4 separate regions of the Homo sapiens genome follow, and regions 1, 2 and 4 are each linked to region 3. Evidence: promoter capture Hi-C in 16 types of primary human blood cells and fetal thymus (Javierre and others, 2016). All regions are on one chromosome and are shown on one strand. The core of a region is centred on a gene start or on the middle of the fragment in contact, and the rest is flanking DNA. Distances in the headings are between cores, read along the strand shown. Region 1 overlaps LINC03043 (long intergenic non-protein coding RNA 3043). Region 2 overlaps POT1 (protection of telomeres 1). Region 3 holds the start of ASB15-AS1 (ASB15 antisense RNA 1). Region 4 has its middle 8.6 kb from the start of LINC03043.

Region 1 (3,325 bases), core at 220-2,719, 1.2 Mb after region 3:
CTCCTTCATTAATTATCTGGAAGGGTTAGAGACATCTCTATTATTTTTGTACTCATATATCCTCATTTGAAAATGGCTAAGGCACTGTTAAATAATATTATATTCCAAAACATAATAAATATTTTTCACATTCACATAATTTCCATATTAGTGATTCACATTCTTTACATTGTTTATACAAAAAAATCTCTCTTTTGTATAGAGGGTTTATGCAACTGAAGGAAATCTGGAAACTCTAGCTATAGGTCCAACACTGGTACTAATATTCATGAGTTATAACAAGAATAACTCATTATAAGGGCATATTGTCCTATTTTTATGTGATATATGCAGTATTAGCTAAAACCATGGACTGTGTTTAAAAATTATTGTGTTGTAAGTGGTCCTTGCATAAGAGAGCATTATGGAAATAGAATGATTGAATATTTATAGTGATTTTCCAGGTGGTGCATTGTGTGTGTGTGTGTGTGTGTGTATGTGTGTATGTATGTGTTTTATTTTCAATTTATTGAAACATATTATTTCAAGATATATATAATAAACATATTATTCTTAAAATAAGGGACATGTAAATTTTAAAAGAATACTGTTCAGTTAGAATTAACCAAACTATTGGATTCATTAATGCTCTTCCTTCCACCCATAACACATGGACTGCCCAAGGGCTGCCCAGTCACTGACAGGCTACTCCATAGGAGACTCAGGCACTTCTGCTTCCAACCCTCTCCTTGAGTGGTGTTGCTTACCAGAGTCAAAATCAGTTGTGTCTGCTTCTTTACCTGTGAAAGTCACTTGTACTTGTCATGATAATTATGCAAATTAATTAACATTATATTAAAAAGTGATGAGATGTGATTATGAAAATAGAGTCATTTCTTTAAACGTTTCAGAAAGATTTGATTTTTAAAATGTTAAGTTAGATGTAAGAAAACTATAAAATGTTATGATAAAAAGTTAAAAATGCTTATGTTTTTAGATTGCTTTATTAAGTGTTAAGTTCTTAACTTTAATGAAACTCAAATTGGAAATGTAAATGATATGTTATAGGTGTGTGGTTTATGCAAAAAAGAAGGTAAGGACCTTCATTCAGGAAATAGAACTCATGTTATTGGCCTCATCCCAAAAGCTTGGTGAATAAATGAACATTTATATATTTTAGATTAAAATAAGTATTTAAGGTATATATTAAGTTTTCAATGATTCCTTACTTTCACTGCTTTTTAATTCTGTAACCAAATACAGATTCTAATCGAGTTAGATAAGAGAATTCCAATTATAACTATTTATTTACGAGCCTGGGTGTTAATCATCCTGTGGCCCCTTTCCTACTATCTCTTATACTTGAATTTCAAACCCTTTCCTGCCAAATATTTATTTTACAATCAACTGTACATAGATACCCTTTGAACTTAAAACCTGAAAGAAAACAGTCTGAAAACAATTATCTTAGAAGTTCCCATAACAAATCAGCCTTTAATCCTGACTATTATTCTAGGCACTTTTATTTGTATAGGGAATTCCTTTTTTGGTCAATTCTATACATTCACCCAGGTTTGTGGCCCCATGCAGAGTCTAGGATTATTACTCTGGTTTATAGCTTTAGAAAATTTTATAAAACCACAACAACACAATGTCTTCACCAAATTATGTAAAGTGTTACTATTTCCCATAATGGTTTGTGGGAAAAAAAAAGTATACATACATATAACTATTTAAGCACTTACTAATTTAGCAAATATTTATCTGCTATCTGTTATGCAAAAAACAGTGAGGTATACTTGCATATTTACAAAAATAGAGCTATTCTATAAGGAAGCTTGATATGTCTATTGTCCTAGCTCTAGGAAATATTTATTTTGATGATTTTATTTTTTATTTTTTTTATTTTTGAGACGGAGTCTTGCTCCGTCGCCTAGGCTGGAGTGCAGTGGTGCAATCTTGGCTTACTGCAACCTCTGACTCCCGGGTTCAAGCGATTCTCCTGCCTCAGCCTCCCGAGTAGCTGGGATTACAGGTGCATGCTGCCACGCCCATCTAATTTTTTGTATTTTAGTAGAGACAAGGTTTCACCATGTTGCCCAGGCTGGTCTGGAACTCCTGAGCTCAGGCAATCCACCCGCCTCAGCCTCCCAAAGTGCTGGGATTACAGGCATGAGCCACCACGCCTGGCTCTTTTGATAATTTTAAACCAATAGGTATGAAATAGACTATGTAAAAAGGGAAGTGAAATCTAATGGTACAGCTTAGAAAAATCCTCAGATAAAAGAATTTTTCCCAGAAAAACAAAAAAAAATGATTTAATTTTTAAAAGATGGCTAAGAAAGACAAAAAGAAAATCAAAACGCCAAGGGAAATTCTCAGGATTTAGGTTAAAGGTTGTTTTAATCTACAGTTAATATCTCGAAAATTCTTCAGGATTTTCTACTAACATTGGTACATTGAAACAATACCTGACATATTTTCTCACTATATGTCTTCAACAATGCATGGTTGCTAATGACAGCATTTGCTCATGAGCCTTCCCTGCAGGAGAGATAAAGCCTCTGGGGTGAAGAATTTTCTACAACAGCAGACCTGCCATAGCTGATCTGTCAGGGTGAGTCAGACAGGCATTCTGCTCCCTAAGGATGACAAGAAAACAAATAAAAATAAAAGAAAATGCAAACATTTTCATAAAAGGCATTTGGCAAATTAGTAGCTGCCCTAAGGAATTCAAAGCAAGGGCAGAAACTATTAGCACTTCATTCACAAAAATCTTTTGATTTCAATATTTCAAACAGATAAATTAAACCATGTATTATGTCTTCTGATAGTTCAACTGCACAAATACATATTGTGGAAACTTGGCCAACATTACAATGATTTCATTCACATGCAGCTCATGCTCATTTTTCATTTTTTTGATACAAATATTTGTCAATTTCTACTACTGCAAGGCACAGTGCTAGGCACTGGGGAATGCAATGATGAGCAGAAACCAACAAGGACTGTATCTCCATCCTGCGGAGCCCACGCAGTTTAATGAGGATGGGGAGGCAGGCATAGTAATTAAAAGTTCCTATAAGCACATGAGGAATTGCAGTGGGCACAGATTTGAAGGAGAGATATGTGGTGCCTAGAATCTATGATTGTAGTATTTTAACTAAACCAGAAATTGAAAACAACTTCTATAAAGAAGTTCTGAAGGACCCTTAGATATTAACTAAGCAGGGAGGGAAAAAGTTATTGTGAGCAGAGGAAACACCCATGTCCTAAGGCATGGTGGCTGGAAAGGGTATGATCAGTTGAGGGGGCTGAAAAGAGGCCATTGTGGCTAACACAGAGA
Region 2 (3,088 bases), core at 6-2,505, 1.2 Mb after region 3:
TCGTAGTAATATCGTTACTTCATTTCCCTTATGTTTACTTTGCACATTTTTTTTCCTACAGTTTTAGTTCTAACTTGTTTAGGTCTTCATATTTAAAGTGCATTTCTCATAGGTAGCATATATTTGGTTCCTGATTATTTTTGTTCAGTCAATCTTTTCCTTGCAATTGGAAATTAGTCCATTCACAGAAATGCAGTTATTAACATGGCCATATTTGAGTCTACTATCTTATTTGTTTTCCTTTTTTTCATACTTCTTGCTTTTTTGCTTCTTTGCTTTTTTAAAACCATTTTTTTTCCTATTGTTCCTTTCTTGTTTTCTTTTTGGAATTCTTACTAGTGCTCCATTTCGTTCTTCTTAGCTATGAATAAATCTTTAACTTCTTAATGTCCACTTGGAATCAATATTGTTCCACTATGTACTTTCTACTTTCCATTTCATACTTGCCACTTCCTATTTTACGCGTTCTACTTCACAAATATCTTTTCAATGGTAGAATTCCATTTACTTATCCCATCCATCCTTTGTGTTACTGTTGTAGTATTTTTTCTACATATTTTATAATCTCCACCATGTAATATTATTGGTTTTGCTTTAAATAGACATTTCTCTTTTAATTAAATTACGGAAAGAAAAACATTGTGTTTACGTATTTGCTATTTTTTTCCATCATTTCTTGTATTTTTGTCACTTCTTAACTATCCAGCTTCTAGTTGCTAGCATTCCTCTTTGGCCTGAATATCATTCTTTAGCATTAATGCTATGCAGATATGCTGCCATGGACTATCTCATTTTTCCTTTATATAAAATGTTTTTATTTTACTCTCATTCCTGAAGAATGTATTTGCTGGATATAAAATTCTGTGTGAATAAATTTTTTTCTATCACCATATAAAACTTACTTCTTTGTTCTCTGGGTGTCACTGTCTCTGGTAAGAAGTGAAAGATGACTGGTATCATTGTTCTCCAACAATGCATCATTTTTTTCTCCAGTTGATTTCAAGATTTTTCTCTTTCTCAATGGTTTCACATTGAGAAAGTTTTGTCTGGATGTGCGTTTCTTTGCACATACCCTGCATAAAGTACATTTAAGTCTTTGTTTTTCATCAAATTTGGGGAAATTCTGGTCCTTATTTCTATAAATATTTTATTTCCCTTCACCCTCTCTCCTCTTGCATCCTAAATTACATGTAACCCTTGATATTGTTCCATAGGTCCTTAGGGTCTATTAATTTGTATTTAATCCTTGTTCTTCAGATTAGGTAGCTTCTAATGATTTGTCATCAATTTAACTTATATCTGATCTATTTAGCCCATCCATTAGATTTTTCATTTGTTCTTTTCAGTTCCTGAATTTCTATTTTTTTAATAGTTTCCACTTCTCTGATGAAATTTCTTTTCATTCATTTAACATCTTCCTCTAATTCACTGAATCTATTTTCACTTAATTCCTTTTTTAAGTTATTTTATTTATTAATTATTATTATTATTATTATTTTGAGACGGATCTCGTTCTGTCACTCAGGCTGGAATGCAGTGGTGTAATAATATTTCACTGCAGCCTTGACCTCCCGGGCTCAAGGGATCTTCTCACCTCCACTTAATTCTTTGAAAGTCTATATAATCTGTGCTTTAAAGTTTTTGTTTAATAAAGACAACATTTGGGCTACCATGGAGTTGGTTTGGAATGTGTATGATTTTTTCTTTTTTCTTGACTAAGGGTAACACTTTGTTGTTTTCATGTAGAATATATCTTTTTTTCTTTACTAGACATCATAGATGCTATACTGTAAAGACTCTGAATTATGTTGGCTTCTTCTGACAAACACTGATTTTTGTTCTTGTTGGCCACTGAGTTGTTGTCTGGTCATCTTAAACTCATGAATGCTTGTTTTTATGCTTTGTTAGGGTGATACGTGGAAAGCCCATGATGTTTCCCAAAGTCTTCTACCTTGATGGGACTCACCCTGCAAACTCTCTGCGAAGTCTTCTCCGTAGAACTTGTTTCAGGCTTTGATAAAACATGTGTAGAATAGGCCTTACTATAAGATGTGGTCCTTCGTGAGGTGAGCTACTTTTGGGGGGTGAAACCTTTGTGCTGCCTCAGCTGAATGTCCAAGCTGTTAAGGAGGTATTAATAAGGTTATTTGTCCCTGACTATCTTGGACTTCCAGCACCCCATTACTAGACCTCCAGTATCCATTTCATGTTCAACCACAGTTCAACCACACAGCAGCTTTTGTAATCCTTAAGTAGTTCTACCCTGCTCTGTGCAGCCTGGCTTTCAACCAAGTATTCGAGCCCACCCCAACCCTGGTGGACTTTTAGACATCCCCTTCTGTATAACTCCTTCCTCTCTGGTTTCTTGTTGTGAAAATTCCAGCTTTCAGCTGCCTTGAACTTTGACTTTAGCTATAGCAGGACCACAGCTTGAACTTCAGCTTACTGTGCAGTGGTTGAGAAAATGTCTATAGGCAGGGATGTGGTCATCATGGGGCTCACTTTATAAGTTTCTCTTCACTCTCTGATCATAGCTACCCATTGTCCGATGCCTAAAAAACAGTTGCCTCATAACGTTTTATGGGTCTTCGTGGTAGTAGGGCTAGTCTAGTACCAGTTAATTTTTCGTAACACAGAAGTTCGCTCTGCAGATTCTAACTATACTTGCCTACAACTGATCGATTACCTAACTTTTAAATGGGTTCTACTTGATGTATATGCTGCTTCTCTTTTATACTCCAATGTCTGATTGATTCTTGGTTCTGTGGTCATCATTTTTATCACCAATTCCATGCTCACTAGTGTATACTGTTGACTAAAGCTTGCCTCTGCTGATTAACATAGTAAACCAGAACAATCTTCCAGCTTAGGTGTGTTGGTAGCTTTCACATATCATTTATGAGCAGGTCCTCTTTGCTTGAGATTCAAAATATACCTTAATTAGTCTACTTCTATTTCCACCACCACTGTAGTCTAACGCATCCTCATTTCATGTCTGTAAAACTGAAATAGCCTTCTAAAGAATATCTTTGCCTTCATGCTTGTTCTTCAACAACCCATCTGTTATCCACGTTAGTAAGAGAGATTT
Region 3 (2,928 bases), core at 4-2,503:
AAATACAAAAATTAGCCAGACTTGGTGGTATGCGCCTGTAATTCCAGCTACTCAGGAGGCTGAGGCAGGAGAATTGCTTGAACCCAGGAGGTGGAGGTTGCAGTGAGCTGAGATTGTGCCATCGCACTCCAGCCTGAGCGACAGAGCGAGACTCTGTCTCAAAAAAAAAAAAAGAAAAGAAAAGAAGAAAGAAAGAATGGAAGGAAGGAAGGAAGGAAGAAAGAAAGAAAAGAAAGAAAGAAAGAAAGAAAGAAAGAAAGAAAGAAAGAAAGAAAGAAAGAAAGAAAGAAAGAGAAAGGAAAGAAAATACATATATAAGAAAGAGAAGTTCATTCAATACTTGCTGCTATCTTTTGCGGCAAGGGGAAAAAACCCTGTTTCTATAGGGGAAACCTGATGAACATGATTTACATATGAGGTTCCTGGGTCCTAGGAGTGATATAATAATAATAGCCAGTTACTGAGCTCCTGTTATGTACTAGGTACTACACTGAGAATTTTACATACATTATTTAATTTGTACAACCCAACAACAAGTGTTATTTCCATTTTGTTGGTGAAGAAATTAAAATTTGGAAAGAGGGCACACAGCATCCTATCCTAGTGATACGTGTTATTTTCTGTGAAACTCTTACCCCTCCTCCAGGTCTTAAAGAAAAGGTAGTGTCATCTTGTAAACTTATATTTCACAAATATAAACTTGGGTATGAGAAACAGAAGGGATATGAGAAATACATTATTTTCCTTGTAGAAAAAAAGTTACTAGCTAGTATCTATTTCAATATTAAATTTAGTAATTAGTTTAATACCACCTAAGGTATTTGTGTTAATATACTTACTGTTGTTTTTAACAATCATTTTCAAGCTGTGAAAAAGGGCTCCTATGACATGGTGTCGACTCTGATCAAACATAACACTAGCCTAGACCAGCCCTGTGTCAAGCGATGGTCAGCAATGCATGAAGCAGCCAAGCAAGGCCGAAAAGATATCGTAGCTCTGCTGCTGAAACATGGAGGCAATGTCCACCTGAGAGATGGATTTGGAGTCACACCACTAGGCGTCGCTGCCGAGTATGGTCACTGTGACGTGTTAGAACATCTAATCCACAAAGGTATGTGAAAAGGAGTTACACTTCCTGACTTTTGTCCTGCCTCTCGAACTCTCCTTTTCTCCATTCATCACTCTTCCTCACCTGAATGTAACTAGGGGAGCTCCTCTTCCTCTGCTGAATGGAACTTGGCATCAGGTTTTCCCACCTGGTCCCTCAGTAGACCCTTATTCTACAACTCAGCTAAGCCCTATACATTGTGACCTACGAATTTACAAGCCCAGTCCTGATTGCTCTCTCGAGAGACAGTTCAATCTGCACATAGATGGCCCATCAGGGCCTCATGCTCATCTTCTCCTTAACTGAATTCCTCCTGTTTTTCTACTCTTCTAATGTAATAATTTCTCTCAACAGGATTGAAAGATCGTATTTATCTCTAATTCCTCCATCACCTGCTTTCCTAAATCCAATCAGTTGCAAATTCTTGTAGCGTTTCTCTTGTCCTCTCATTGCAATCCATCTGCCATCCTGATCAGGTCCCTCAATTCTCCCTGGACCAGTGCAAATAGTTTCTAACCATTTTCTGGGTTTCTAGTCTCCCATCAGAGAATCACAGTACATACTGCAACTTGGCTCCTCTCCCTATAGGGCAGCTACAATAGTGTCAACTATCCAAAAAACAATCCCTATTGCATCATCTCAAATTGTTTTACCACGTTTATCCCTCACTGCTCCCATCTTGTATCCTACACTCCAGTCAAAATATACTAGCAGTATTCCCAAACGTACCTTGCAGGGTTTGGGTCAGGTCCTTGCCTTTATCTCTTCAGCACAATTCAAAGTCAATCTCTTGAGACACCTCCTCCCTAAATCCTTTCCTAATTCTTTCCAACAGATTGTGACACTGCCCTTTCTTAAACCCTCCAGGTGTTTTATACAACTACAGAACCATGAGTTAAGGAGACCTGACTCCTAAACTGGTTGAGCCACTACTCACTGTGAGACCCTAGCCTTATTCCTTAAATATCTGGTCCTCAGCGTCCTCATCTGCAAATGACCTCTAGAACCGCATGATCCCCAGTGATTCCCTGTAGGAAAAAGACTAACATTTTTGAGGTGTCCCAATACAACCACGTTTAATTTTCAAATAAGCCCTGTGAAGTAAGCTGTATTAATCATTCACAGATGTGGAGATGGAGGTGCACGGAAGTAAACGGCTTGCCCCCAGCTCTCACCATAAGCAGCAGAGCCACAGTCCCCTACATCATGTCTCCTTGTCTTAATGTCAGTGTCACTGGAATATCATACAGTTTGTGCTGTCTGATATTTTGTTTCATTTCCCCTCTAAGCTCCTTAGAGTAGTCACACTTATTCTTCTTAGGGTCACACACACTGATTGCACATAGAGGGCAATAAAGTATTTGTTAATACTTTATTAACTGTAAGTATTTGTTAAGTTAAAATAGAGGGGGCCGGGCACCATGGCTCATGCCTGTAATCCCAGCATTTTGGAAGGCCAAGGTGGGTAGATTACTTAAGGCCTAGAGTTCAAGACCAGCCTGGCCAACATGGCGAAACCCTGTGGTGGCACATGCCTGCAATCCCAGCTACTCAGGAGACTGAGGCAGAAGAACTGCTTAAACCCAGGAGGCGGAGGCTGCAGTGAGCTGAGATCACACCACCGCACTCCAGCCTGGTCGACAGAGTGAGATTCTGTCAACATAAATAAATAAATAAATAAATAAAATAAGAAACTACTGTCTTTAAATTAAAAAGTCTAATGAGCCTTTTTCAGAAGAATTTGCCTGTCATGAAAATTGACTTAGTTTCTCTCATGATTTTTGGCCCAAAGATTTTAATAAAACAAACCATGCTGCATG
Region 4 (3,228 bases), core at 594-3,093, 1.2 Mb after region 3:
AGTGCGAAGCTGCAGTGAGCTATGATCTTGCCACTGCACTCCAGCCTGGGCAACAGAGCAAGACCTCATCTCTAAACAATGAAATAAAATAAAACACATTTGCTATGTGAGCAGAGACCTCAATGGAGTGAAGAAGCCATTATGCAGATACTTGAGGAAAGTGTTCCAGGCTAAACAATAGCAAATTTAAAAACCTTGACAAAGGTGTTTGGCAGAGGCTGATTCTTGTAATAAGAGGGCCAGTGTATCTGGAGAAGAATAAGATATGCTAGATTAGAGAGGTTGCCCCAACTGGATCATACATAGTTTTGTAAAGAGTTTTGATTGTAATGAGCGTGATGAGAAGGTAGTTTTGAGCAGGTAAATGATAGAATCTGATTTACATTGTGAAAGGTGTGCCCTGGCTTCTGTTTGTAGAATAGATGGGAGGGGAACATAATGATTTTCCACTGGTGATTCTAATGATTAATAGGTTTGGGAATATGTTTCTGCATGATGCAGAAACTGGAAGCTGCTGCCTTGCTAGCCTGATATTTCAAGTGTGGTCCAGACTAGCACCATCGGCATTCTAAAAGCTTGTTAACTGCAGAATCCAAGGCCCACTCATAGAACAACTGAATCAAAATTCACATTATTTCCTCTTGGAATTTCTATTTCTACCTAATAAAATCTTACCTACTCAACAATGACCAAATCCATCAGAAAATATCCCCAGCTACAAGTGAGTTAGCTTTATACATTAATAGAATGTTATCCTTCACTCCTAGTTCCTTGTATCCTAACTTCACCTTTTTTTTTTTTTTTTTTTTTTTTTTGGCTAAGGAGTCAAAAGAGGTGAGGATTTAAGGAAGTCACACTGAACCGTGTCAAATGTTCAGTTTCTCCTTGGATTTGCAATTACCTTTCTGAAAATAGTCACAGAAGTTTTGGATGTATGTGTGAGGAGGAAGACAGATCTGTCTAACTCTTATTTGATATTGCGTGGCTCTTCTCTATCCCTCTCTCAAGCCTCCTTCCCCTACCACCCAAACTACCTCTTTCCGTGTGTCAGTCAATAACAATTGCCCATAGTCTTTACTTTGCAACAAGTTTTTTTGGTATTGATCATTCACAGCCTTTGAGAAAACTCTTACTCCACTGGTATAGTTTTTTATTTAAAACTTTATCATAAAATGAAAACTAACATGAAACTCACAGAAATTATAAATTTAAGGCATTTATTTTCAAGAAAGGCTCTTCTTCCTAGATAGTCACTCTCACCATTAAAATTAGCGATTTTTTTCAGTAAGGATGATTAGACATTACCTTAATTTTCTGGGTTTCTTGCTAAAAATTAATGATTTGTAGTTATCAAATAACTGTAAAATTTGAAGGTAAAAATTAGCAATTTTAGTGGCTAATATTAGTTGAATATAAAAACAATATTTAGATAATATAATTTTCAAAGATTTGTCAGCAATTAACTATGTATTTATAGATATAGTTGTCTCTTCCTCTTCCTTCAAACATGTGTGCATTACTAAAAAAATAAATCAAAATCTTTACAATAAAATGTAAAATACAGATACTTTTTAAAATCACAGGATATTATTTAAATCAAAATAGTTAAAATCTATTCTGCAATCTAGTATTATAATTTACAAATATCTGACTCTCAGAGTACTTAAACTACAAAAAGTATAAACTGTAGCAAGCTGATTACCTGAAATATAGTAAAGCCAAACATAAAATTACCTTGTAACTCTGTAATTGCATTTGTAAAGAGACAATATAAAAATTCTCGGTTGAAATCATCTTCTAATGATTGAAAGTCCTCACTCCCCATGAAGCACCTTGCTTGTTTTTTGGTTTTGGTTTTGGTTTTGGTTTTTTTTGAGATGGAGTTTTGCTTATCAGCCAGGCTGGAGTGCAGTGGCGCGGTCTCGGCTCACTGCAATCTCCACCTCCTGGATTCAAGCAATTCTCTCACCTTAGCCTCCTGAGTAGCTGGGATTACAGGCGCCCATCAGCATGCCCAGATAATTTTTGTATTTTTAGTAGAGACAAGTTTTCGCCATGTTGGCCAGGCTGGTCTCGAACCCCTGACCTCAGGTGATCCACCCGCCTCGGCCTCCCAAAGTGCTGGGATTACTGGCGTGAGCCACTGCGCCCGGCTGCACCTTGCTTATAATTGATGTCTATACCGAATCCTTTCCTGAAGACCAGACTTCAGCAAGGCTATCTTATGCCATTGTTGTTAATATGGTTTTTGTACATGCCTCAAAGGTTTCAATTTCTTTGAGATTTATATAATTATTCTTGTATAGCAGTACAATAATTGCAGTTTACTGACTTTTTACCTTTGATTCGTACCCAGCTTTCAAGTTCCCAACTCTTAGAATCATTTATTCTCTGTATTTTCACTTCAGCTCAACACCTCCATGTGTTACATGTAAGTAAAACTATGAAGAAAAAAAAGAACTTCAAAGCACAGAAATAAATAAATGTCTTAATTAGGGATTTTTTTCTACTACCATATGGTCCAAAAGTATTCCCTGTGGCTGTCACTGAAGAGCATGATAAAGTGGCAATGTATGTTTTTGCCAAAAATGAGCCGCGGAAAATAAAATCATTTTCTATGTGTCTTGGTTTGTTCAACAGGATGCAATATAGGGTCAAGAAGACAATTGTTTTGATTTCAGGCCCATGGGAAGCTCTGCCATAATCGCTGCATGCCTCCCTCTTGCAGTCTTACAGGGCTAGAACAGTGAGAGTAAGGGACTGACATGTGAAACAGAGCAGACAGTTCAGTGCAACACATCCCCACTTCTGTAAACAACTTGAATTGTATGCCTGCGTGCCTATTCTGGTAATGTCTGCCCTTGTCCTTCTCAGTTTTGTTCTGTTTGCAAGGGGCTGTCCTTTTAGTCTACATTTTCCAGGCACCAGTTGCCATCAGCAGATTAGAGGCAGGGGTAAGGGAGAAGTCAAGGTATTCAACTTTCTGCCTTTGGTAGTAGCTAACATCACACTAGGGCCTAGCTCCTGCCATAAAAACCGTGAGCTCCAGCCTTCATGCAGCAGCCCAAGGGCACGGGTTGCCTCCTTTTGTCCTTCTGCCTACATCTGGAGGAAGCTTGGGTGGGCCAATGTTTAGATAGCCTCACTGCCATCTAGTTAGCATCTGAGTTTCTTCCATCACCCATATAACCCATTCCTACATTAAATTCCTTGTTGTAAATGCTGAGA

What was found. The method cuts DNA at HindIII sites, captures the fragments that hold promoters and counts their contacts. A CHiCAGO score of 5 or more calls a contact.
Region 1: a contact is called between a fragment that was not itself captured here and the fragment with the promoter of ASB15-AS1 in region 3, in 1 of 17 cell types (M2 macrophages). The highest score is 8.7, in M2 macrophages.
Region 2: a fragment that was not itself captured here is called in contact with the fragment with the promoter of ASB15-AS1 in region 3 in 1 of 17 cell types (M2 macrophages); the score reaches 5.1 in M2 macrophages.
Region 4: a fragment that was not itself captured here is called in contact with the fragment with the promoter of ASB15-AS1 in region 3 in 1 of 17 cell types (fetal thymus); the score reaches 5.1 in fetal thymus.

What each region holds. Positions count from the first base shown.
Region 1 is chr7:124,774,942-124,778,266 of GRCh38, forward strand. LINC03043 (long intergenic non-protein coding RNA 3043) reads right to left here. Exons shown (of 4, transcript NR_167671.1): 4 at 2,351-2,621. Among named protein-coding and RNA genes, the nearest start is that of GPR37, 11 kb to the left of the region's middle. The HindIII fragment of the contact is 690 bases long and covers 1,125-1,814 here.
Region 2 is chr7:124,864,227-124,867,314 of GRCh38, forward strand. All of the region lies in intron 7 of POT1 (protection of telomeres 1), which reads right to left. Among named protein-coding and RNA genes, the nearest start is that of POT1, 64 kb to the right of the region's middle. The HindIII fragment of the contact is 3,127 bases long and covers 1-2,819 here.
Region 3 is chr7:123,623,704-123,626,631 of GRCh38, forward strand. It overlaps ASB15-AS1 (ASB15 antisense RNA 1), which reads right to left and starts at 1,254. Exons shown (of 5, transcript NR_111922.1): 1 at 1,193-1,254. It overlaps ASB15 (ankyrin repeat and SOCS box containing 15), which reads left to right. Exons shown (of 12, transcript NM_001290258.2): 8 at 866-1,111. The HindIII fragment of the contact is 15,446 bases long and covers 1-2,928 here.
Region 4 is chr7:124,797,787-124,801,014 of GRCh38, forward strand. No RefSeq gene overlaps it. Among named protein-coding and RNA genes, the nearest start is that of LINC03043, 8.6 kb to the left of the region's middle. The HindIII fragment of the contact is 2,540 bases long and covers 574-3,113 here.